Linked DNA regions of Homo sapiens: all the other regions are linked to region 6. The links are contacts of gene promoters, found by promoter capture Hi-C in blood cells and fetal thymus (Javierre and others, 2016). All regions are on one chromosome and are shown on one strand. The core of a region is centred on a gene start or on the middle of the fragment in contact, and the rest is flanking DNA. Distances in the headings are between cores, read along the strand shown. Region 1 overlaps TANC1 (tetratricopeptide repeat, ankyrin repeat and coiled-coil containing 1). Region 2 overlaps TANC1 (tetratricopeptide repeat, ankyrin repeat and coiled-coil containing 1). Region 3 overlaps TANC1 (tetratricopeptide repeat, ankyrin repeat and coiled-coil containing 1). Region 4 overlaps TANC1 (tetratricopeptide repeat, ankyrin repeat and coiled-coil containing 1). Region 5 has its middle 75 kb from the start of TANC1. Region 6 holds the start of MARCHF7 (membrane associated ring-CH-type finger 7). Region 7 overlaps TANC1 (tetratricopeptide repeat, ankyrin repeat and coiled-coil containing 1).

Region 1 (3,414 bases), core at 307-2,806, 580 kb after region 6:
AAAAGCGTCTTAGAAACTTAAACAAGAATGTCCAAGGGAAATATAGATAACAGAAGACCACATTTTAAAGTAAAACTTAAGTGATGATGCTGATATTAAACCCTAAAAATGAGGGTTTGCCCATCATGTATCTGTACACACCTGGGTTAACACTCAAACTCAATTAGTTTTAGTCGGCTCTATCATTTCCTTTGGGTTCAGTGATCTGGATAAAATTTACACTTTGACATGGCAGACTTAATTAACCCCATTGAAATTTAAGGGACTCCATGGGGATTACAAAACATACCATTCTATACTAATTGTCCTGTTCGACTTTGTTAGGCAGCCACCTCTCCTCATCAACCAAGAGAAAGCTCACCCTGCTGCGGCATCCACCAACATCATGGCTATCTTCAGGCAAGACCATGCACCCACAGACGTGAACTACACCTGCTCCCGAGACACTTAACAAAAATGAAAACATACCCTGCTTCTTAATTTCAGGCGAAACCGAAATGTCTGGTCCTGTATTTGTAGCCCATAGATCTCATAACTTTGGTCCCCATGAAGACTAAAGATGCCGAATCAGAAAGCTCAGGTCTCAGGAGTGAGCACACATGCAAACTTCAGGCCACTCCAGCAAGACCAATTGCTGCATTTGAAATTTAGCTCAGCCCACAGCCAAGCATAAGAACACTTCCATTCGTCAAGAAAGGTGGCCAATTCTGCTTTGAGCAAGGGAGAAAAGTTAACAATAGGAACTATTTATAACCTTTTATTGCCTAATAAAAATCCAAATTTTCTACCCCCACTCCCACACCAGGAGGAGGAGGTCCCAATCCCTGTACAGAACCTTAACGATACTCCCAGCCAGGGAGGAAGAGGTTACATAATGGAGCCTAGGCCAGCCAAAATGCCAGGGGCATAATTGACCAGGGCTACAAAGGCTTTGGTGGGTGGGGAAGAAGGGAAGAGGTAGGTAGCAGGCTTAATCTGAGCCAGGCAGACAGCTTAGACATTTGATGACTGATATTCACTACAGAGAGAGAGATTTTACTTTCCTTTCAGGACACCGAGGAGAGAGAGAACAGACTGCCTGCCCACGTGAACGCACAATCAAGAGAGGCCTCATGTACCAGCAGTTGGCTATCCTAACCAGACACCACAGTGGAATCTCCACCTTCACCAGCAACATTCGGTGTGCACAAATCCTCAGCTCAAATCCTCTTCCCTCAACCACACAATGAGTGCCTGGACAGAAAGGAAAAGGGTGGCATTTCTCATGCCAAGACACCTGCAATAGCACCTCTTGCCTGCCCAGAGTGCCCAGTGCCTGGCCCCATCTTTTCCCCATGTCCCAAACTCCCCTTCCCTTCCCAGTTTTCAGCTTTTGCTGATCCTTCCTCACAGCTCATTTTTAGCTATATTTTTACCACCACTCCAGTATATTGTCTTCCCATGTCCTACTTATTACCCACTCCCTGCCATACAGCACCAGCAACACAAAAGGCACACACAGGTTAGGACATAAAGGGTCTGTATCTCCCACCACCCACAATTAGGCAGAGGAAGGTGCCAGATATGCCAAAGTAAAAATATGGTTGAGTTCTCTTTCAGCATTGCTACATAAACTTTTGTCCACACTGAGGATAAAGCAAGCCCCTTTACATACAGCAAGATTCCTAGTCCCATGTTTCTGCAGAAAAACAGGGTGGAAATTCAAAACACCCAAATTAAAGGCAAGAGAGATGTGAGTTGGGGACTCCCCAGAAAGGAACAAACAGGAAAATTCTTGAATTGATTTTTTAAAATAAACAACTATGAATATATCTGTTAAATGCTGCAAATTTGTAATGTCACACATATTTCCAGGTATAAAATACATATACATATAAAATGTCTTTAAAAATATTTCCATCAATTTGGTTTTTTTTTTTTTTTTTTTGCTCCTACTTCAACATCCCCTAAAGAAAAACTTCAGATGTTAAAAAAAGCAGCCTTCAAAAGACACCAAATGCTTTTTTTAAAGCTAGCAATTACATGCTTTGTCCAGTTAAGGTTTCAGCTTTTCAGCCAAAGCCTGTTGTTGAATTTTCTCAAGCAGTAGAATATTAAAAACAAAACAAAATCTTGGAAGCAATCTACTGGGTGACGCTTCCTATCCTCCAAGACCTGGTAGGTCAAAATTCAGAGGAAATAGGACTCAATCCTTAAATAATGCATATGTACCCACTTAACTATTTATACGCCAGGTATACAATTTCCAAGAATTTGCGTTAGCCAAACAGATCTCTGTAACTGCTGGAGGGGAAAATACCTCCCAAATACATTCTCAGCAAAGCAGTACTGCAAGGACACTCAAGTTTCATTCAGAAATGAAGTGTCATTGTATAAAATCTTTGGTAGAGGGGGAAGGAAATCACTGAAATTCTTACCATGCTCATCAGGCTCTGTTGGCTTGGCTACTTCTCTGAATGGCATTATAACTGCATCTCCAGGCACTCTGGGGCTTTCCACATACTTGGGCTTCCTGACGGGACCTGTAGTGGGAAAGATCTGAGTGTGGCTAATTTTTTCCAGATGCAAACAAAGCCTTGGAATGTACAGTGTGTGTCCTTACCAGGACCCAAATATGCCTAGAGGAAGAGCCAGTGCCTTCCCCTCCCTTAAACGCGCGCGCGCGCACACACACACACACACACACACACACACACACACACACACACACACAAAATTTCAGTACAGACGAGGGAACGTCCAGTCTGGCCTGCCAAAGAAGAAAAGAGTAAGCTCAGATTTGAGAATGTAAACCCTAACAAAAACAAAAGCTGCTCTCTTGCTGTGAAGTCGCTACAGCTGTCTTCACTGGTCAAGTGGGTGATTTTGACATGTTCAAACCTGGACTGCTTTGTGATGAAGGGTTTGATTTTCCTCTAACTAGGACAAGGATGGGACAAAGACAATTTGGTAGCTTGGTATCTCTAAAGTCAGGAGGCAAGGATTACAAACAGCCGGCCTGTAACAGCAACACAGTCTGCGCACCAGCCACAAGAACACAGGCATCTTATCTGGCTGGTGACGCACAGTAACTGTGCGGGGCACAGCAGCCAGCAAGCGGGTCAGACATAGGAGAGACCAACAGGCTTATCTCCTACCTCCTGTTCCCACAGCCCCTGCTTATTATCAGAAAATCCGGAATTCTTCGTAAGACTGGATGGAACCCTCACATACAATGATGCAGCCGTTTTGGAAAACAGTTTGGCAGTCGTTCAAAAGGTTAAGTGCAGAGTTACTACATGGCCCTGCAGTTCTACTCCTATGGGAATGTATGTTCACACAAAAACTTGTACACGAATGCTCACAGTAACGCCATTTGTACTAGCTAAAGGTACGTCAAATGACAACAACAAAATGTTCTTTGCCCACACAATG
Region 2 (3,584 bases), core at 951-3,450, 550 kb after region 6:
CTCCACGCCTGTTAAATGGGAGTGCACAGGGCCAAAGTGCATTCAGAACCCAGCTCCTGGATCAGGCTGCTTTAGCCACACACCAAGATGATACACACTGTATCAGAAGGCTGGTAAATTAGCTCAGGGTCAGTTATTTAGGATCAAAGGGTCTGAAGGGTTTAGCTTTGTTTATATTCTTTACGGTTTAGAAGTAAAGACAAAACTATTTCCTTGCAGTGGCCCAGGACATCCTGTCACAATTCTGACTGTCTTTACTCCTCCTGCTGCTGCAGCCTGGACTTATCACCCTCTCTGGTTGCCTATTTTAAAAAATCCCACATAAATGCTGAAGCCTTCCCTAGAGTATCCATGGCTATCTTTTCCTTTTCTGAATAGCACAGCACAGCACATAGTAAGTGCTCAATAAATGCTTGCTAATTGAATGAATGAGCAAATGAATAAACTTCAATTCCATTTGTGGTCAGAGACACTACACTTAATCTCACTTACCAGAGTTCAGGATCTGATTTTGGGTGCCCATCGTTATGATTCCCAGCATTTGCCAGTGTTCCATCAGCAGTATTAAACCATACCTCCACCTCTTTGGAATCAATCACAGCCTTCCTTGTGTTTTTAAATAGACCATTTATATGAACATAGGCATAGCAAGTATGACTCTTTCTATCATAAAAATGCCAATGGTGGTGTTGACAGCAGAAGCTAGCATTTACTGAAGGTTTGCTATATGCTAGAAGTGTGCTAATGTTTTTCAGGAGTGGTCTAATTTATTGATAAGATTATTGCTTATTAATGGTAATCCTGTTAATAAGCTTGAAGCATAAAAATGGGGGCCATCCCATAACACAGATTGTGGTGTTACAAACCTTCACATTTAAATCCAGCATTTGCAACTCAAAATGCTTTTCTCAGACATATTGTAATAAGTTAGGTTCACAGGCTACTCCAACATCCAAGTGACAGGAAGAGTTCCAGGCTAGGGAGATAGGGGATTTGTTTGGTTTTATTTTTGTGGCTGTTACATTGGAAAGCACGTATTTGTAAATTGAAAAATTAAACCAAAAGTCAAAGTGCTCTCCCTAAGTGCCAAGCACTTCTGAATCAAACCCCAAAGATCTGAGTCCTAACTAGGACCTCAAGCAGGGGAAATAAGGACTTAGCTCACTTCCTGTTACAAGTGACAGCACTGCAATCAGGACCTCAGGGACCCATGGAGCAGCTGAGGATGGCTGGGAAGGCCAGGTCAGAGCTCCTGATGGCAGGACAGGTGGAAGGTGTGGCTCTCACTGGCAGACATGTGCCCTACACTGTGCCCAGCATCTCGTGGAGGGGGAGAGGGGGCGGAGGGGTAACACTCAGGTCCTGGCAGGGAGAGGAAGGAAAAGGGGTGGGGGAGGAAGGGCTCAGCTGCAGGAGCAGTCACTGCGAAGAGAAGTCCCAGATGGGGTAACCATTTAGAAATGAACATATTGTAAGGTCAGTGTTTATATGAAGGAGACTAGTGAGGAAGAAGAGGCAGCCCTTCTGCTGCCCTCACAAAGTTCCTGTGAGAGAGGCATTCCACGGTCCACATGTCCCAGGGTTCTCAGAGGCAGGGAGGCTGGAAAATCTGAAGCCACTCCATTGACACTCCTTCCTGGGATTCAATATCAGATGTAGCCTACACAGGTGGAAGCCCAGACACTCTCATCTTGGCTCAGCTCCATCCGAGCCCTGAGGCAGATCCAGCTGAGCAGATGAAGGCCAAATCAGTCTGGCTTCCCTGCATAACCTAAGAACAACACCAAACATGGCAGCCCCGGAGTCCCCAAGAAGAGAAAGCTGGTTCTTCCAATAAACGACATCTTTCTTTCTTCCAACCTTACAGAAATTCAAACTCCTAATCAGGTTAACCCAGTCAATCACTCTCAAAAATGCTTGTGGGTACACGTACACATCAAGGGCAGCATCTTAACTGTGATGACTTAAAAAAAAAAAATCTCTAAAAAGTGCTATTTGACATTTCCCAGAGACTGGCTAATGTTTATAGTTGCCTTAATAATTTAAAAATTCTAGCATTTTGTTCTTTGGACTAGTATAGATGGCAGCTTTTGTCAATTACAGCTTGCTATCATCACCCAAACTGGGTCTCAGCCACCCTCGAGACACAGGGCATTCTGAAACTGAGCGACTTATCAGGCCTTAAATTTTATAAGGCTGTGAGGTTAGGCTGTGCCTCACAATTTAGTGTTACATTCCGTTTAGTCTCAAGGACAGTGTCTTATCTTCCTTTGTACTAGTGTACAGGGGTAGAATACTTCCAAAACACTTTTCTTTTTTTTGAATAATATGGGATTTCACTATGCTGCCCAGGCTGGTCTCAAACTCCTGGCCTCAATCAGTCCTCCTGCATCAGCCTCCCAAGTAGCTGGGACTATAGGCACACATCATTGCACCTGGCTCACTTTCTTAATATAACAGGGCGTATACCTGATCACATCCCATGAGAGGAGGCAGATAGGCTGAGAACCATCAACCCCACCTTATAGAGATAAAAGGCTCCAGAGAACCTGATCTCTCTCTCTCTCTCTCTCTCTCTCTCTCTCTCTCTCTCTCTCACACACACACACACACACACACACACGTATGTGTATGCACAATTAGTGGTATAGCTAATACCAATTCTTCTGATTATACATACAGCGTATTTTTAAAACACCATTTGCTTGCATGGTGCTCATTACATAAAAGGAGTTAATTATCTGTGGCTAAAAGTTCATGAAGTCTGCCTTGTTAAAAAGTCATCCACTCAGTCATCAAATGCTTTGCTCTGCAAGGCTCTGAAATACGACTGCACTCTTTCTTCACCTTCCCAAAGTTTTTTTTTTTTTTTTTTGAGACAGGGTCTCACTCTCTTGCCCAGGCTGGAGTGCAGTGGTGCTATCTCGGCTCACTGCAGCCTCGAACTTCCAAGGCTCAAGCGATCCTCCCACCTCAGCCCCCTAAGTAGCTGGGACTACAGGTACCACACCTTGCTAATTTTTTATATTTTTGTAGAGACAGGGTGCCGCCATGTTGCCCACACTGGTCTTGAACTCCTGAGCTCAAGCAATCCACCCACCTTGGCCTCCTAAAGTGCTAGGATCCAACTTTACCCCTTGCCTTCTGAAGGTTCTATGTTGAATGGACACTTAAAATAGAATCAGCAAAAGAAAAATAAAATCAGTGTCGGTCCAGGGCCCTATAGGTAGTTTGGTGGGATCCAAATCAAGTTATAGGCTTAAATGAACATCAAGAAGAAAGCTAACTGTAACCTGACTACAGCATTAGCCCAGAATTGTTCAGGAACTAAGGACCAGAGATACCAAACATATGCCACAAACAATTCATCAGAACCTTCTCTTTGAGCTACAGAGAAGACAAGGGTGAAAAGAGCAAGGGGCTTGCTGCAACCTTGGCTTCTCCCCTCTAGGGGGTCCACAAGGAGGTATGCGTCTCCAGACCCGGTACCATTTTGGGCAATGGACATTTTTGTCTTTATAAACACCACCTTCCACATGTGTTTTCTCTCTTTCCACTAGCTATCAGGAAACTTAGGAGTAAAG
Region 3 (3,339 bases), core at 232-2,731, 530 kb after region 6:
TACCATTTTTCGAGGCCCAACCCACCATCACCATGTTTTAAAATCACCTCCCCAGGCCCCTTTACTTACGCTGGGAGCTTCTCCCTCTTGTGAGGTCCACATGAAGTGTGCCTCCCTCTCGCATATCACCTCCTGCCTCCCCTGCCCTGTGTGGGAAGCCCTGAGAGCAGGGTCCTTGTCCCAACAATTGGTGTCTGCCACAGTACTTTGCACATAACTGCATATAACAAAAACTGTTGCTGAACTGAATCCAGTAGCTTCCTTCCAACATTGTTCTATATCCTCTCAATTGAATGAAGCTCAAATACTACAGGTGTCTTGGGAAAATGGCAACAACTCGCACCACCCAGGAGTGGGTGCTTCCTTAAATTCTGCACCCTTGGTACCTCTCTTGCCTCCACCTAGTCCAGGTCCTGCCCCAGGGGATGTCCCCATGCCTGCTTTTAAGAACACAGTGGCATTCAGGAGCCCACAGGCACCCACCCTAGCTCTGACCTAGGCTACATAACCTCAATGCCCACCAATACCCAAAATGAAGCGAAGCTTAATGAAGACTACAGTCCAGCCACTTTAGCCTCCAACCCAGTAACAACCTACACTCCTGATGGAGTCTTTCAATTTGTTTTTATGTCTCTACAAACTCAGCTATAGTCAATCTTCCTAGAAAATGACTGGAATTTCCCTAGAAAGTAATCTGACTTGGCTAGAAATGTCACAGCACATGTTTCACCTAGCTATTATGGTCTGGCTAAATAACCTGGATGTTAGTTTATTGCCCCAAACCAGGTTCAAAAGATAACAACAAACCTTCAGCCAGTGTTACTGAAGAAAATAATAACAGCCCCAACATGAACAGCAGCCAGGCCTATCAGGTGGATGTTCAGTCAATATTCACAGGGAGGAAAGTGGCTGTGAGGCTCCCAGGGCTCACCAATGCTTGTTCACCTCTTCATTTCTGGATCCCAGCATCTGGTCAAATGCCTAAGGGGTCAGCTGAGCAGCTTGCCAGCCCTGTTACTACAGCAGGGGGCAATTCTGGCTCACAGATAGCCGAAGCCACTCGAGACAGCAGAGACACAGGCCAAAGCCAGGGCCAAGTGGAAGTTGGGGGCTTGCCATATACATATCTGAACGCATCTGCATCCTCAAACTTTCTGACCTCTCACACTGTTACCAAGCCACACAGCAGACAGGCTTCCTTCCCCATCCCACTGTGATAACAGCGGCCCAGGCAGCAAGGAGAACTGCATCCCAGCCTGGTCCAGTCCACCACACAGAGCTCATCCACAAAGGGTGAAGGGTGTGGAGCGGGGAGGCTAGATTGGATCATGGTGCTCCCTCTGGGCTCACAGATATACCTGATCCCTGGGACAAGTCACTCCATGTTCAAGGGGTGGCAGGGGAGTGGAGGTGCTGAGGACCCATGACAGTCTGCAGACACACAGGGAACTCCCTCTAGAGAAGCCCCCTGTTCCCAGGGGCTGATCTCACACATTCCCATGCATGATCCTGCAGAAGCTGGGTGGGGGAGGAGACGGGGCTCCATGAGACAATGGACAGTAAGGAAGGACCACACAGGCACCACCCAGCTTCTCTTTTATCCACATGTACCATCCATAAGGGAGTCCTAGCAATTAGAAGGCAGCTTCTGTATAGAGAATTCCCCATTGCCCATCCTTCTGCCAAAAAGGAAGAAAAATAATAAAACAAAGCAGTAACACTGAATTAGTCATTCTGGATTGCCCTTCCATTGAGACACGTGCATCACATTTAAATCCTTTCCCCAACTGCACACGAGATTCCCTGCAAAGAGCTGAAAGAAAGCGCCTGCCGTACCTGGGCTCACACAGGAAGGCCGTGTTTTCCCCGTCTGCTCTCCATACAAGCCACTCCCTGAAGGACGGGTGGCAGAACATGCGGGTTTTGTCTCGCCTCTTAATGAGGAAGCAGGAGAGGGCGTCCATCCTCTGCTGAAAGTCTTCCCATCCCTGCTCCCCCTGGATGTGGCCAGCATTAATAGCCTGAAAGATCTGCTCGTCTGTCATGGGGTGGAGGGATGCGAGGGCCACGTTGAGAATCGGAAGTGCCCTCTCAAAGGCGGACTGGGTCATGAACTTCATGTTGCACTGAAGCAAATAGAGCTCAGAGAGAGACACGGGCACCACCTTGTAGCTGGCACTCTTAATGACCAAGTGGCCCCTCTGGAAAAGGTCCAGGGTGAGCTTGAGGTACAGGTAGGAGCCGAGGCTCCGCAGCACCAGGTGGCTGCTCACTTTTCCAATGAGTGTGGCATCGGCCTTGCCATTCAGGGAGATGTTGCTGAGGATGTCCTGGCTGCTGTGCACCCTGTGCTGGACGTAGGCGTGCAGGTCACTGTGGATGTCTTTGTTGTCTGGGAAGTCATCTAAGGAAAGCTTGACAAATGGCAGCGCACTTATGATTTCCTGGGGGAGAAAACAAAAACCCACAGTGTCACTCTAAAGAGATTCCTTTTTTATTTTAACAGCATTTTAAACCAGATTCACTAGTTTTGTTTCAAGGAGGATTTTCATGGATTACAGGGACTCATTGTTTTGTATTAAAACGTGTAATAGGATAAGGTGAAGATAAAAAGCTTATGTGAAAGAAATCCTGATGGGAGATGGAATCAGTAAGTGCTATCCTGAGGCCCTCATCCAAGGACCCTGAGCCTAGCAAGCAGAGTAAGAGCCCTGTGCAGACAGCGGCAACGAGGCCAGGGCCAGTAAGGGCAGTGAGACTCTGCAGGTGACCTGATACCCATAATCCTTACACTGTGAAACTGCTTATATAACAAGGACAAACACCAACCAACACTGCACATCTAAGAACACGGCCAGACGCCAAGATAAAAGACATCCTTCTTTATGCAGCAAACACTGGGGCTGTGTAACCCAATCAGGAAATCTGAGTCTGCCCCTGGGCTGTGTCTCAACGACAGCGCATCTTAACAAAGCTGCCTACTTTGGTATAGCACGTTATTTTATGAATTGCTTTTTTAAAGTAAACTTTTAAATTGAAGTCTAACAATGAACATATGATTTGTGTACAAATGACAATTGCACAGTGTCACTAATTTTCACTAAGTCAAATATACCTATGTAACCAGCACCCAGAAACAAAACATCCTCAGCTCCCAGAAGCCTCATGTGCCCTTCCCATCTCTTCCCCATTCCAAAGATTAAGCACATCTGACACCTAAAAGCAAAGAAGAGTTTTGCCTTTTTAAAAAGACTTCCCACTATTGTTTCTGAAGTATTTAAATGCACGTGCTCATTTAATATAACAATGTAGATAAAGAGGGCAGAATACAATTATTCC
Region 4 (3,569 bases), core at 216-2,715, 620 kb after region 6:
CACAGACCCAGCTAGTCAAATGGCTGTGGGATGGCCTGACAGGCCACAAAGGCACTGTCTCCCCTACTCACACATGAGTATTACTGACCTATACAAAAACAAATAAAAACCCAGATTTCAAGTCCTTTAATTTGCATGAGGACACAAAAGAAGGGAGAAATACATGTACCACCACCAGAAATAAACAGCATTGAGAAAAGGTTTATTTTCTTAAATACTTATAATTCTCCAACATGACACAAGAGAAATTAGGCATTGAAGGGAAAAAGAATTAAAAAGTTTCCTAATTATAAATTCTGCCCATAAACTTTGTTTATAACAAGCAAAGCAAATATTTTCATTAATTGCAAATGTGGTGCAGATGAGTTTCCAAAGCATGCTGTAAGCATGAGGACCTTCAGCCTTTGGAGCAGCTGGGCTCCAGCACTATGATTTTATGCAGGCTGCAATAAAACGAGGCTTAAGAGAAGAGGGAGGGGGAGGGGGGTTTCCATTTCAAGTTTACTTTACCATCTCACTATAATCACTCTCAAACATGTTGTTCTGTTTGGTTTGTTTTTCAGAGGCAATAAAAGATCTCTAACTTCCAGTATCCTTTCATTAGAAAGGCACAAAGTAGGGAGAGAAGTTTTATGTATGAACAGGAAGCACAAAGCTGGGTGGATCTAGCACTCTGGAGCCAGGAGCTTTAACTGCACAAGGGCAAGGGGAATACGGTCAAACAAAGAAAGCATCACGATGATGCCACGGGCAGAAAGTGAAAATCTCTTAGGGGCATCCACGTGAACAATACAATATTGGTTCTGGGCAACAAGACACCAGAGATTCTCCAGTAGATGTAACATTCCTCAGCAGAAGCTTAAAGACATTTAAGAGGAATTAAAGATGTTTCACTGCAACAACCAGCACAGCTGGCATATTTCTTAACCCTTGAATAGATACTGTTTTCTTTTAACTATGACCTATTTTATTCCCCACCTTGATTAAGTGATGGGAAGCACATTTCAATCACCCTTCCTGTTACTGCAGGCAGAAATGCCAGGTAGGACGATGCAACCTCTCCAGGGTATGAAAACTATGTTATCAATGACTAGTAATTTACCTCCTCCAGCTTCACTGGCAGGTGTTTCCATTGGAACATTTACACACCACAGACAGTCCCACCTACCCCAAAATGCTTTCCATCGCACAGCATCAAATGCAATCACACTGTCTCAGATGGGAGACTGGGGCCTGGAAGGTAACCCTGAGGAACAGGGATCACAGCTAGAACCTCCCCACAACCGGTCAGCTCAGGCTCTAACATTCTCACCACTTCACACGTTTAAGAGCTTTAATTTGGGGAAAAAGATAGAGATCCCCAAAACGACACATTTTTAGTGAGTATTTTAAATACATAAGGCGTCAGCACACTTTGCTACAAAGGGTATGACAGTAAATATTTCAGACTTTGCAGGTTACATATAGCCTCTGTCACTCATACACACACACTCCTTTGCTTCTTTTAAAATCATCAATTCCCTTAAGTCCAAAAATAAAAGTCCAGAAAGGGCAAGGGGACACACAGACATCTATAAGAACCTCTCTGTTCGTAATAAATAAAAATATATACGCATACAAGTAAGTCAAAGTCATAGTTTGCAAAGATAACAAAATTATCAAAGGGAATAAAGCCATCCAATAAGGCGTTTTAAATTGGCAGAAATGGCTTTTGATAACAGTTCTTTATTTTAAAATGTTTTTACCATTACAGGCTGTGAAAAGGGATTTCAATTCATAATGGAAGAAAATGTCAATCTGGGAGATGAATGTTTAAAGGCAGCTATGCAGAATGGCAACATCCAACATCACAGATTAAAGTACATAGAGTGCAGCATTAGAGACAGCTTTAAAAAATGAGGGCAACGAAGGCAAGGAGATGAAAGTAAAAGCATATTTCAGGAAGGGAAGGCCTGAGAAAGGCAAGGGTGCACTTAGACACTCAGGTAAATAGGTCTGCAGAGGCAGGAAATAAGATTTCCATTTATTGTGCCACTGAAGTGGCTGAGGTGGGGTGGGGCGATAGAAGCTTAGAATAGAAAAAGAAAGATGTTCTGTTTATCCAGCTCCAGAAAACGGAACTTGTGCAATGCATTTAACTAGGGCATTAAATGTGTTAGGGCACCTTTTGTGCAGTCCCCGCCTTACAGTGCACTAATGTTTCTTAAAGGTTGTATAACCACATAACTCTACATACATACACACACACACCCCCCCCTATATTTACAGAAAACTGAAAGATTTCTTCCACAAGATCCAGTATCATTTTTGGACCCTTCAGAAGACTACAACTAAAAGCACTTGAAGCCATTTTATGTCTTATAGAATCTCCTAACATTCAGGCAGAACATTTTGAAAATAAATGCATCCAAGAAAACAATTTTCAAAAACTTTATTCAGACAATCATGATTAATTCTCAAACAATACCACTAAGAGGCAAGAAAGCAGCTAACCCCTAGGGTACAAGAAACCTAGCCAACAGGACAGCATATCCTTGTCTTCAAAAATCCACCCAGTGGGATCTAAACAGAGATCAGTAAATACTGTCCGCATGGTTTTATTCTTAATACTCAATGGTTATAGAACCAAACGTACAAATGTGCCTTATCCTGAAACAGATGAGTAAACAGACTGGCATTTCCTCTCTAATTGTCAAAGTTTTCCTTTTAAGACATATCAGCATGCAAGAGTTTCTGTGCTTTAAAAATAAATGACCTCAGAAAAACTCCCACCCCCAAACTCCCAGAGGGGTGCAATTTAAAATAAATGCTCTTTTTATTTTTTAGATGTATTAGGTGCCAGGACAGGGTTCTGGGTGCATTATACATATATTATTTAAACTTAATCTTCACAGCCACGCCACAAATTAGGCATTGCTATTAGCCCCCTTTTCAGATGAAGAAACTGAGGCACAGAAAGGATCAAGTATCTTGCCCAAGGCCACTCTGGCATATATCAGAGCTGAGTCTGAACCCAGGCAGCGGGATCCAGAGTCCACTGTCTCAGTATTGCTCCCCTTGGAGAAGGCTACTGAGAAAGGCTTTCAACATTATGTCATTTTGCATACTTAAGAAGGAAAACCAAAAATAGTATATGTAGGTCTACGCACAGTACTGGGCCACCACAGAGGGGAAGAAAAAAAAAACAAAAAAACACCCTGTTCCCTCGTCTATTTTCACTTTTCATGCCGGCTGGTTAATTAGCTCCACAGCACTCCTGCAGCACTCCTTTTGGGAGGTACCCAGGCCCAGTGATCATTAATCTTCTCTCAGTCACACCTCATGCTGTCACCATACAAGCGAAGTGGATCCAGGATAGGTGTTTAGTCATCAAGCACCCTAGTTTCCTCTCCTCTCCGTGGGTACTGGACATTTATTAACTCTTGCAGCATTTGGGCCTGCTGCTTCTGCAGCACAGTGGCGCTGGCTCCGGTCATTCTGCCTGGCCCAATGAAGGGTGAAGTCACGAGCTAGCTGTGGTGGAAGGCAACCTGGCAGGATTCACCGTCAATCTGCATGGAATTTGGGAT
Region 5 (3,359 bases), core at 247-2,746, 820 kb after region 6:
ATGTGAGATATATTTTTTTACCACAATATTAAAAATATTGATTTGTAACATGGAAACATTGATGTCTACCACAATTTGCATAATGCTATTTTGGCATAGGTTTCTTTCTTCTTTTCTTTTCTTTTTTTTTTTTTTGAGATGGAGTCTTGCTCTGTTGCCCATGCTGGAGTGCAGTGGCACGATCTCAGCTCACTGCAACCTCCACCTCCCGGGTTCAAGCAATTCTCCTGCCTCAGCCTCCCAAGTAGCTGGGACTATAGGGGCATGCCGCCACACTGGGCTAATATTTTGTATTTCGTATTCGTCTCGAACTCTTGACCTCAAGTGATCCACCCGCCTTGGCCTCTGAAAGTGCTGGGATTACAGGCGTGAGCCACCTTGCCCGGCCTGGCATAGTTTCCTTTTGAAAAAAAGTTAGCACTGGAGCTAACCTCCTAAGTACCTTTGTGCAGGTGAGAAAAAGCAACTTTTCCTCAGATACTTTGCTGCCATCTGCAAAAAAACGTATCCTAATGCACGTGCAAATCTACAATGACTTCAGTATGAAGGGAGCCCCCTAGAGTTGTGCAGTATACTACCTGCACAGGTTGTTCAAAGAGTCCCCAACAAAACACAAGTGCCCAGGCCTCTCTATCTCTGCAAATAGTCTGGGGTGACTGGTGGTGGGAAAAAAATAAATATAAAATATGAAAAAATAAAAATATAAAAATATAAAAAATAAAAAATAAATTTTTTTTTAATATGGAAAGTTTGGATTATACTGGTTGTAGCTGTTGAAAATGCTGTTCCATCAACATTAATAAGCCAAAAACAAAGTCTCCCAAGGTGCCCAGCTGACAATTCAGGAGGTGGCTTTGAACAAGAAGTGGTGGGAATGATGTGTCAGGAAAGAAAGAAGCCACTGCCAGGGTCGGCCTTATTCATGGATAAACAGATTTATATTATGCGAACACTGAAGAGGCCCTGTGCACATTTCTATTCTCTAGTTTTGGGGATGCCTAAAATTCCAACGACTTTCTTCATGACTTATAGCTTGTCAGAACTACAAAGAGCCTTTGACGTCACCTGGTTCTAATCTCCAATTTCTCAGATGAGACACTGCAGTCTAGAAATGTTAAATGACTCAGCCACAGGCACACACTAGTTGGTATTTTGCTTTGCTCTCTACCTGAGAATCTGGCAGGGAAGAGGGTCCTCCAAGAGAGGAGAGAATATCAAAATGGGCAGGGACGTGGTTCTAGAGACAGGGGTGCTCCACTTCACAGTCATTATAATTTCCCTTTTCCCATAATCCCTAAGCCATAGGAGGGGTGAATGGGGAGGGAAAGGCAGAGGCTCGATAACATTGATAACCCTGAGAAGCATACTAAAGCTTAAGAAGAATCTATAAGTAGTGTGTATTTGACTTTTCATTCATTTATTCACTAAATACATTGAGCATCAACTTAAGACAAGCATTATGTACTTGAGGGTCTTGTGAACTAGTTGGGGAGAGAGACATGTAAACAGATAAATTATAGTAAGACCTGTAATATGCTGATTTAGATGTATGAACCTAGTGCTGAGGGGACCCTGAGGTGGGAACAACTCTTTTTCCACAGAGGCCTTGGGGAAAGCTTTCCAGAGGAAGCAATATTGGAGTGGGTTTTGAAGGGTGAATAGGAGTTTAGCAGGTGGGAAGGGTGTGAGGGAAGGTTCTAAGAATTCCGGGTGGAAATAATAGCCTGTGCCCTGGGGTAGGGTCTAGAGAGTGTGATCCCTTTAGGAATGGCAGGAGCACCCTGTGTTTTAGTAGCACATGGGAGTTGACCTGGGCCAAGGTACCGAGTTGGCATTTTATCCTGTAGCCAAGCAAGTCAACAAAGGCTGTGAAGCAGAGTGTGACAGGATTCCTTGTGGAAGGAGAGAAGGACTCTGGCTTCCAAGGAGGATGAACAGCAGTGAGAGAGAGCAGAGTTGGGGAGACGGGGCAGGGGCTGTGAACACTCAGGCTGTGCTCCATCAGTGAACGAACTTGCCAGGACAAGCCGGGCAGCGGGGTGGAGAATGGCTCAGCCCCAACCCCCTGCAGCCATCTGTTCCTCCACACGCACACTGTGCCTCCTCCCACTCCTGAGCCGGCAGAACTTCTGCCACTGACATTTGAAACAGTGGGGGAGTTGAAAGAGGGAGGCCTGTGGCGAATGCCCCCCACCCCATCCCTCCTTGGGCTTGCTTGGTCTGAATGTGGGATATGATGTATGTGGTTACACGTGTGGCACCTACCTCTAGCAGTCAGGAGGTGAACCAGGAATGTCACTTTATTCCTTCCAATGGAAACGAACTGCCTCTGATACTGAGCATAGCAGGAGAAACTGAGCATCTGGGTGTAAAGCAGAGAAGACTGCTAGTGGGAGAGAAAAGGGCTTTAGTCTGGTAGTGGCTGGTACCAGGAGAACTACATTAGAGCAAGCCTAAGGTTGTCACCAACTTCTGTAGGAACAGGCAGAGGGTTTGTGGCCAGGTAGTCGGCTCAACTCCAGAGGCTGAGCTGACATATTGGACCCTCAGCCTTTGGGCTAATGTAGCCTTAGTCTGAACCAGCTGAGGACATTTTCTAGCTGAGGGTTTGAGGAGAGTTCCTTGTTTGGTAGCCCCCAGCTCAGCACAATGCCGGGTTCAGTAAATGATTCCTAAATGGAATCAAACTCAAGTGAGGAACCTACTGAGAGTCTTCACTTGTAACTGTACACACCTGTATATAGCCCCATGGCTTGTAGCAACATGTTTTTTAAAAGCTGCACATTGGCCACACACAGTGGCTCAAGCCTGTGATCCCAGCACTTTGGGAGCCTGAGGTGGGTGGATTGCTTAAGCCTAGGAGTTGGAGACCAGCCTGGGCAACATGGTGAAACCCCATCTCTACAAAAAATACAAAAATTAGCCAAGCATGGTAGTGTGTGCCTGTAGTCCCAGCTACTCAGAAGGCTGAGGTGGGAGGGTCACTTGAGCCCAGGAAGTCGAGGCTGCAGTGAGCTGTGATGGTGCCACTGCACTGCAGCCTGGGTGACAGAGCGAGACTCTGTCTCAACAACAACAACAACAACAACAACAAATCTGCACGCTATTATCTGGACAGGTGAATATTGAGAGAAGGAGGCGCAAAAAGCATGTGGGGGGGGCAGGAACCATGAACAGAGGCAGGGAGCAGAGAGAGAATGGTGCTGAGCAGGGGCTTGGAGGCCCCTTGTGTAAATGCAGAAGAGATGTTTAACCTTTAGTTGCCTGACAGAGAAAATGGAATGTTCCAGGGAGCAGTGGTGGTGACAGTGGTAGAGGACACTTGAGGGGCTTGCACACCTAAAGAGAAGTTTCTCAAT
Region 6 (3,330 bases), core at 465-2,964:
AATTATTTTCCTACAATAAAATGTCAAAATGTAGACGATTCTTGAACATAGAGCAGATAAAAGAGTTGTGTAAGGTGGGTATGGAGCGGACTAAAAATTGGCTACATGAGAGTCATGGATGACTTTTGTGTCCAAGTTCGTTACCTGACACCTTCATGTAGAACATAACCTGGGCATCCTCGTGCTTTATCTGGGAAAATAGCCCTCTTCCAGGTGGCAGAAAAAAGAAATCATTTGTACTTGAATAAGTAGGAATTCTTAATTCAAGACACCTGACCCAGCACTAAACTTGGAAAAAAACCAAGACTAGTATTATGTCCCCTAGTGACTGCTTCACACACCACCTCAGCAAATTTAATCCTCTCTAGAAATTAACTGCCATGTTTCTGAGACAATCTCGTGAACTTAAATAACTATGGCAAAAATCAAGACTCAAACCCAGGTCTTCTGAGTCTGGTGCTACTGCCTCATGCACCAGTCCTGTCTCCCAAAATGCTGTAGAGCTGTTAAATAAAAATATTATACTGACCTCATTTCTCAAACAAACTTTTTGCTACCTCAAGTAAAAGATCTAGTTACACTACATGTGTGCCTTCTTAATAACTGTATACTATTGGATTTTTAAATCGAAAATTCATCTTTAATCCTACATCTTGGTTCTGGACAGAAAGGTGGAGATTTAAAATAACATGTAATCAGAAAAATAGCTAATCAATCCTACAAAATGGGGGAGAAAACCTCGCCAAATTTCAGTTTTCACACATTTAACTAATAGTAACAAACAACATTAGTCGTGACGAATTTATTACCCAGATAGACTTTCCCAATATATTTACTTTGGTACTTGAGAAAAAGTATTAAGTGCAGCATTTTGGGGTGAGGGGGTGGACACACATCTTCAATACGCAGTTTCACCAAAATGAGGGAGTTTCCTACTCCCGGCGCCTTCTATATTTTTACTTCTTAGGCCAACAGGTCCATTTTTAATACAATCACCTACTTCGAGTTGCAGAACCCACAATTCACCACAACACAAAAATAACTCTCAGGGCGTCACGATATTCAAAAACTGACGTTACCAATAAGACAATCTTGGCCGAATCTAAGGGGCTACCGAAGTCACTTCGACTCGAGGCCGGGCTGGCCGAGCCGGAGCCCTGCCCGCCTTTGCCCCGCGCTCACCGGCGAGCTCACGCGCGACACCCGCGGCCCGCAGGGCTCCGAAGACCCCCCGCCCCACGGCCCAAGAGGAGGCCGCCCCGCGCCAAAGGAGGGCTCAGGCTTCTTCCCGTCACCCGCCACACGTCCCTGAGGAAGACACACAATCTGTCCCCTGCACCCGCCACAAACTCCACCACCCGACCAAAGGCCCCTGGCAAGGGAGGCCTGCGCTGTGGCCCCTTGGCCCCGGTGGCCCCGGACCAAGCTTCTCCACCTCATCCTGAGAGGAAGCGGCCTCCGCGTCCCCAGGCCTCTTCGTTTCCTCCCCTCCCCCACTCGCGGCCTGGTCCCGAACTAGCGCCCAAGACGGAGAAGAACTAGCTCCGCAGCTCATTACCCCGGCTCCTGAGCCGGCACCGACCAGTGCGCGTCCCACTCGCAGCAACACGCACCGCCGCCTTTCTCCTTGGAGTTCTAGGCCCGTGACTGAGGAAATGCAGTCGGCAGCGAAGCACAATGGCGCCCGCCCCTCTCCCGGATCCGGCGCAGAACCAGCCACCACCGTTAAGTGCCCCTCCCTGCTCCTCCTCCCCCCACTTCGCGGACTTCCTGGCTTCTCGCGAGAGTGGCGGCGCGGCGGGGACCGAGAGCTGCGGGCGGGCTGGAGGTACCCCACCGCGGGGTGGTGCTCTGACTGCGGGAACCGTTGAAGAGCTGCCCCCGGGGAGTCAGCGAGGCGCCACTGGTAAGCGGCAGCGGCTGGCTGGCCGGCGTGCCGGCAGCTGGGCTGGCGAGTGTGCGGGCGCCGGGCGCTGGAGGCCCGGGCCGGGGCGGTCCCCGCCCGTCTATAGTCTCTGAGCCAGCCCCTTCCCTCCCGGGCGCCGGGTCCCCGCCCACAGGCCCACCTGCAGGGCCCCGTGCTCGAAATAACGCCCAGCTGGTTGGCTTTTTTTTTTTTTTTTTTTCTTTTTCTGGCTCTTGGTAAGTGGCGCAGTGAATGTTGAATTGAATCAAGCACTGCCTTTTCCGACCTACCCCTCCCCGCTTGCTTCCCTGCCCGCCCTGTGTGATCTAACTGCAAGCCCTTTCCCTTAAGAGTTGGAGCCTGTTTGTCCAACCTTGTGATCATTTCCTTGTGGTAAGAATCTTGGTAAATGATGGTGATCATGTCTTTTAAAATCGTGATAGTAACCTTTAATAGCGTAGCCATCGATTTTGCAGTAAACAAATTCACCTATTTAGAAAGAGGGAGGAAAATTGTGAGGTGAATGGTCTGGTGAATATTAGATGAAACTTTCAAAGAACTGTAAATGTGGCAAACTAAGATGTAAATGAGTACTAATAAATAAAAGGGAGTAGGTTAGGGAAAAGCTACATCTAACTATGTGTAAATATTTAGATGATATGTTGATTTGGAATAATGAATCAAAAGTTTTTTAATGGAAAAGATCAGTTATTGAAACTTGGAAGAATACTGAAAGGCACTTGATTTTTTTTAATGACCTATTTTGTTAAGGTATTAAAAGCAATCCTTTGGATCCAAATAATTCCAATAAATGAAACACAGTGTTTCTACGTGTTTGTCATTACATCGGAAGGGAATGGAGTATCAGTCACTATCATCCTTATTTTATTGTCTTGGGGACTAACAGACTGTACATGTTTCACTATGATAAATTCTAAAATACTATAAATTTTAAAGACTTAAAGGTATTTTAAGTTGGCATGTAAGTGCCAATCTAACTTTTAGGATATGAAATGAAAATAAGCATCTGGTATGGGATAAAGTGAACAGAGATTACTTTTGAGGAAATTAATTTGCCCTTTAAAGAAAAATAATTCTTTTCCAGCCTGTTCGAGTGCCCCTGCAGCATTGTGGTTATAGATACACGGATGTATACACCCTGAAGAACCAGACTATATGGCTTCAAATTCCACCCCTGCCTCTTACTACCTTTGTTATCTCAAGCAATTCCTTAACCTTGCTAAACCTAGGTTTCCTGTAAAACGGGGTTAATAACAGTACCCATGCTCTGTAGCATTGTTTAGATGAGATAACACGTCAGTTCCTGAAACAAGTAAGCATTCCGTAATTGTTAGCTATTACATTCCATGTCTAAACCACCAATAATATTGTTTCTTTCTGTGACTTAATATTACATAGGTCTC
Region 7 (3,255 bases), core at 42-2,541, 600 kb after region 6:
GGAATAAGCTTTAAAAAAAAAAAAAAAAAAAAAAAAAAAAAAGGAATAGGCCGGGCACGGTGGCTCACGCCTGTAATCCCAGCACTTTGGGAGGCCGAGGCAGGCGGGTCACGAGGTCAGGAGATTGAGACCATCCTGGCCAACACGGTGAAACCCCGTCTCTATTAAAAAATACAAAAAATTAGCCGGGCGTGGTGGCGGGCACCTGTAGTCACAGCTACTCGGGAGGCTGAGGCAGGAGAATGGCGTGAACCCAGGAGGCGGAGCTTGCAGTGAGCCGAGATTGCACCACTGCACTCCAGCCTGGGCAACAGAGCAAGACCCCATCTCAAAAAAAAAAGGAATAAAGTACAGACTTTAGTAGGTATCAATATCAGTTCATTAACTCTGACAAGTGTGTCATACTAATGTCCTATGTTAATAAGAGGAGACTTGGTATGGAGTGCACGGGAACTCTGCATTCTTTGCAACTTCTCTATAAATCTAACGCTATTCTGAATTTAAATTTTATTAAAAATAGAAGTTCACCCAAGCTTTAATGGTAACTAAGAGGTCTCGTCACATACAGGAGAGTCCTTTTACTTTCTATGTTGTATTTAGGTTGTGTTCCTGACAGTCCTTTCACCCTCAGCATAGAGGAGGGTAAAGCAGCAAACACTGCTTCACTGAAGGTCATGTGAAGGATATGGTGGAAAGGCAGAGTGTGAGGGCTCCTGTGCCATCTGCACCTTTCGAGAGTGATCGAAGGCCACTATTCCGGGTGGCAATGAAGTAAAGTGAAAATGACCCAGGCTTTGGAATTAGACTGAAGTTCAAATCCCAACTGGTTATCAACGAGCAGTCTAACCTTCAGCAAAGTTATAACTAAGCTCTTGGGGCGCTCCATCAACTCACTGTAAGTGGGGTTCATACCTAAGCTGCAGGCTTGAAAATGTTCATGCAGTGTCTAGCACATGGTTGAATAAATGCTAAGTTTCCATTTCTCCTTTCCTTTCCTGAGACAAAAGTTAACATTGGCCAACTACAGCCCAGGGGCCAAATTGGACCACTGAGTGTTTTTATACATAAAATATCACTGGAACACAGCCATGACCACTCATTTACGTATTGTCTAAGGCTGCTCTGTACTACGATGGCAGAGTTACATAGTCGCAACAGGGACTGTGTGGCCCTCAAAGCCTGAGATATTTACTATCTGGCCCTTGACAGAAAAAGTTTGCCTATTCTGCTCAAAGGTCATCAATTGCCATATTTCCAAAAGCTAACAGGTCCTTTGTTTTTTTTTTTTTGTTGTTGTTGTTGTTGTTGTTGTTTTTTGAGACTGAGTCTTGCTCTGTCACCCAGGCTGTAATACAGTGGTACAATCTCGGCTAACTGCAACATCTGCCTCCTGGGTTCAAGCGATTCTCCTGCTTCAGCCTCCTGAGTAGCTGGGATTACAGGCATCTGCCACCACACCCAGCTAATTTTTTTGTATTTTTAGTAGAGACGGGGTTTCACCATGTTGGTCAGGCTGTTCTCAAACTCCTGACCTGATGATCTGTCTGCCTCGGCCTCCCAAAGTGCTGGGATTACAAGTGTGAGCCACCGCGCCCAGCCACTAACAGGTACTTTTCATTCCTTATCATACTTGACCTTCACAGCCTCTGCGTCAGATGCCCTGTTTCAAAATCCTCTTTTCTCTCTTGAGGCCAGCAACCTTAGCTCAGACTCTGCACTCAACTCCTTGGTGCTCTTCACAAGCATGGCTTCGTGGAGCACTCAAAGTTCAAGATAGGCAAAGTCAAACCACTCCACACTGTAGTTAATTACACCAGCACCTACACCTGTGGTAGGGCAGAAACAGCATTACTTGGAATCCCAGGACCAACGAGGGCTGAAATTCTACCTTTCAGAACCTTAGAATTCCTACCCAAAACACAGGAATAATGCCCACCTTGGAAATACTATGAAAATTAAACTGGGGAGAAAAACAAAGTCATGAGGCACAACAGAATATTTTGAATCTTGACCTATCAAGAAAACCAAGCTAGAGCTCGGCAAGCTTCCCAATGGCATGCAAAAAATGAGTTAAGGGTATGCCAGGATATGGATTCTCTCAGCTCTCCGGACCGTTGGGCAGAGTCTGGGGCAGTGCCCGAGGGACAGTTCATTGATTCCATTTGCTGTACAAAAATCTCCTATATGTGCCATGAGATTAAAAGGACTAGGAAGCCCCTGCCTTGAGTACTTTCCTTCTGCACTTTCTTCCTTCCCTAATTCTCATGTACAAACAGGTCACCACAACCTAAAGATTCTTTTTCCTAAAACTTTTTCAAATCAACCTCCACCACACTGCACATTCCCCTGCAGAGTTAAGCCACTATACTGCATTTGACTCAAGGAGTCCCAGTCTCAACCCCAAGGAGGCCTGTGTGAAACAGTTACCGTCCTAGAAACCAAATCTATTTATTTCATCCCTCTTCTGCTTAACTCTGTCATAGGACATCACTGCCAAAATAAAACACCTGGCTCCTCCAATGACACACACACACACGGACACACATACACACACACACACACACACACACACCCTTACCAGCTTCCGAAAGGAGAGTCTCGCTCTTCTCCGTGAGGTCACAACACTTTGTAGACACCTCAATGTCTTCACTGTTGTCATCTCTTGCCAAACTGGGAGGTCCCCAGAGCTTAGAGCCAAGTATTTATTTACCTTTATATCCACCACATCTCTAGTCCAGAGCCCAACACATGGCTGGTGCTCAATAAACTGGTATAAAACAAATGTTTATGGAAGCTCATGAAATCACTGCGTGAAAGACTGAATAACTCAGAGTGCCTCTGAGGCCATTTGCAAAAATAAAGATCACCACCAAAAGTCATCATATCCACCCATACAATGTCCTCTTACAATGAAAGGGATCCTGGAACAGGCTCTCACCAAAACAAGTCCAGGAGAACTGGGGGAGTAAGAGCTCTTGAGATGACCACAGAATAAAATGAACTTTATTTTAAAGCCCAAAGGGCACACAAACTAATAATTTCCAGGTTGAAAGGAAGAAACAGGAAAAGTATACCATAAAAATAATAAAAGAGTGTCAAAATGCAAATAAAAATGGGATTCTCTTAAGCAGTCTGATATATGTTTCTTGCTCATTTCGGGGAAACATGTTGAACTCAACAGGTTTATTTTTTCCTTTCTGGGTATCACACACTACTCTACTAGCAACACTGTCAGTAAGTCAAGATTTCAGGCTA

What was found. The method cuts DNA at HindIII sites, captures the fragments that hold promoters and counts their contacts. A CHiCAGO score of 5 or more calls a contact.
Region 1: a fragment that was not itself captured here is called in contact with the fragment with the promoter of MARCHF7 in region 6 in 2 of 17 cell types (megakaryocytes and naive CD8 T cells); the score reaches 11.0 in megakaryocytes.
Region 2: a contact is called between a fragment that was not itself captured here and the fragment with the promoter of MARCHF7 in region 6, in 3 of 17 cell types (megakaryocytes, fetal thymus and erythroblasts). The highest score is 9.7, in megakaryocytes.
Region 3: a fragment that was not itself captured here is called in contact with the fragment with the promoter of MARCHF7 in region 6 in 2 of 17 cell types (megakaryocytes and erythroblasts); the score reaches 6.2 in megakaryocytes.
Region 4: a fragment that was not itself captured here is called in contact with the fragment with the promoter of MARCHF7 in region 6 in 1 of 17 cell types (fetal thymus); the score reaches 9.0 in fetal thymus.
Region 5: a fragment that was not itself captured here is called in contact with the fragment with the promoter of MARCHF7 in region 6 in 1 of 17 cell types (megakaryocytes); the score reaches 5.5 in megakaryocytes.
Region 7: a contact is called between a fragment that was not itself captured here and the fragment with the promoter of MARCHF7 in region 6, in 1 of 17 cell types (megakaryocytes). The highest score is 7.6, in megakaryocytes.

What each region holds. Positions count from the first base shown.
Region 1 is chr2:159,135,302-159,138,715 of GRCh38, reverse strand. It overlaps TANC1 (tetratricopeptide repeat, ankyrin repeat and coiled-coil containing 1), which reads right to left. Exons shown (of 27, transcript NM_033394.3): 5 at 2,418-2,522. Among named protein-coding and RNA genes, the nearest start is that of MIR6888, 50 kb to the left of the region's middle. The HindIII fragment of the contact is 3,835 bases long and covers 1-3,414 here.
Region 2 is chr2:159,158,731-159,162,314 of GRCh38, reverse strand. The region is part of intron 7 of TANC1 (tetratricopeptide repeat, ankyrin repeat and coiled-coil containing 1); the gene reads right to left. Among named protein-coding and RNA genes, the nearest start is that of MIR6888, 26 kb to the left of the region's middle. The HindIII fragment of the contact is 2,772 bases long and covers 815-3,584 here.
Region 3 is chr2:159,177,661-159,180,999 of GRCh38, reverse strand. It overlaps TANC1 (tetratricopeptide repeat, ankyrin repeat and coiled-coil containing 1), which reads right to left. Exons shown (of 27, transcript NM_033394.3): 14 at 1,837-2,444. Among named protein-coding and RNA genes, the nearest start is that of MIR6888, 7.5 kb to the left of the region's middle. The HindIII fragment of the contact is 1,871 bases long and covers 546-2,416 here.
Region 4 is chr2:159,090,651-159,094,219 of GRCh38, reverse strand. The region is part of intron 3 of TANC1 (tetratricopeptide repeat, ankyrin repeat and coiled-coil containing 1); the gene reads right to left. Among named protein-coding and RNA genes, the nearest start is that of MIR6888, 94 kb to the left of the region's middle. RefSeq lists an enhancer at 3,101-3,380. The HindIII fragment of the contact is 1,210 bases long and covers 861-2,070 here.
Region 5 is chr2:158,891,973-158,895,331 of GRCh38, reverse strand. No RefSeq gene overlaps it. Among named protein-coding and RNA genes, the nearest start is that of TANC1, 75 kb to the left of the region's middle. RefSeq lists an enhancer at 1,722-1,891. The HindIII fragment of the contact is 244 bases long and covers 1,375-1,618 here.
Region 6 is chr2:159,710,890-159,714,219 of GRCh38, reverse strand. It overlaps MARCHF7 (membrane associated ring-CH-type finger 7), which reads right to left and starts at 1,714. Exons shown (of 12, transcript NM_001282805.2): 1 at 1,614-1,714. It also overlaps a transcript of BAZ2B not described here. RefSeq lists silencers at 1,116-1,235, 1,756-2,265 and enhancers at 1,426-1,705, 1,473-2,139. The HindIII fragment of the contact is 3,093 bases long and covers 1,429-3,330 here.
Region 7 is chr2:159,114,489-159,117,743 of GRCh38, reverse strand. All of the region lies in intron 4 of TANC1 (tetratricopeptide repeat, ankyrin repeat and coiled-coil containing 1), which reads right to left. Among named protein-coding and RNA genes, the nearest start is that of MIR6888, 71 kb to the left of the region's middle. The HindIII fragment of the contact is 1,511 bases long and covers 536-2,046 here.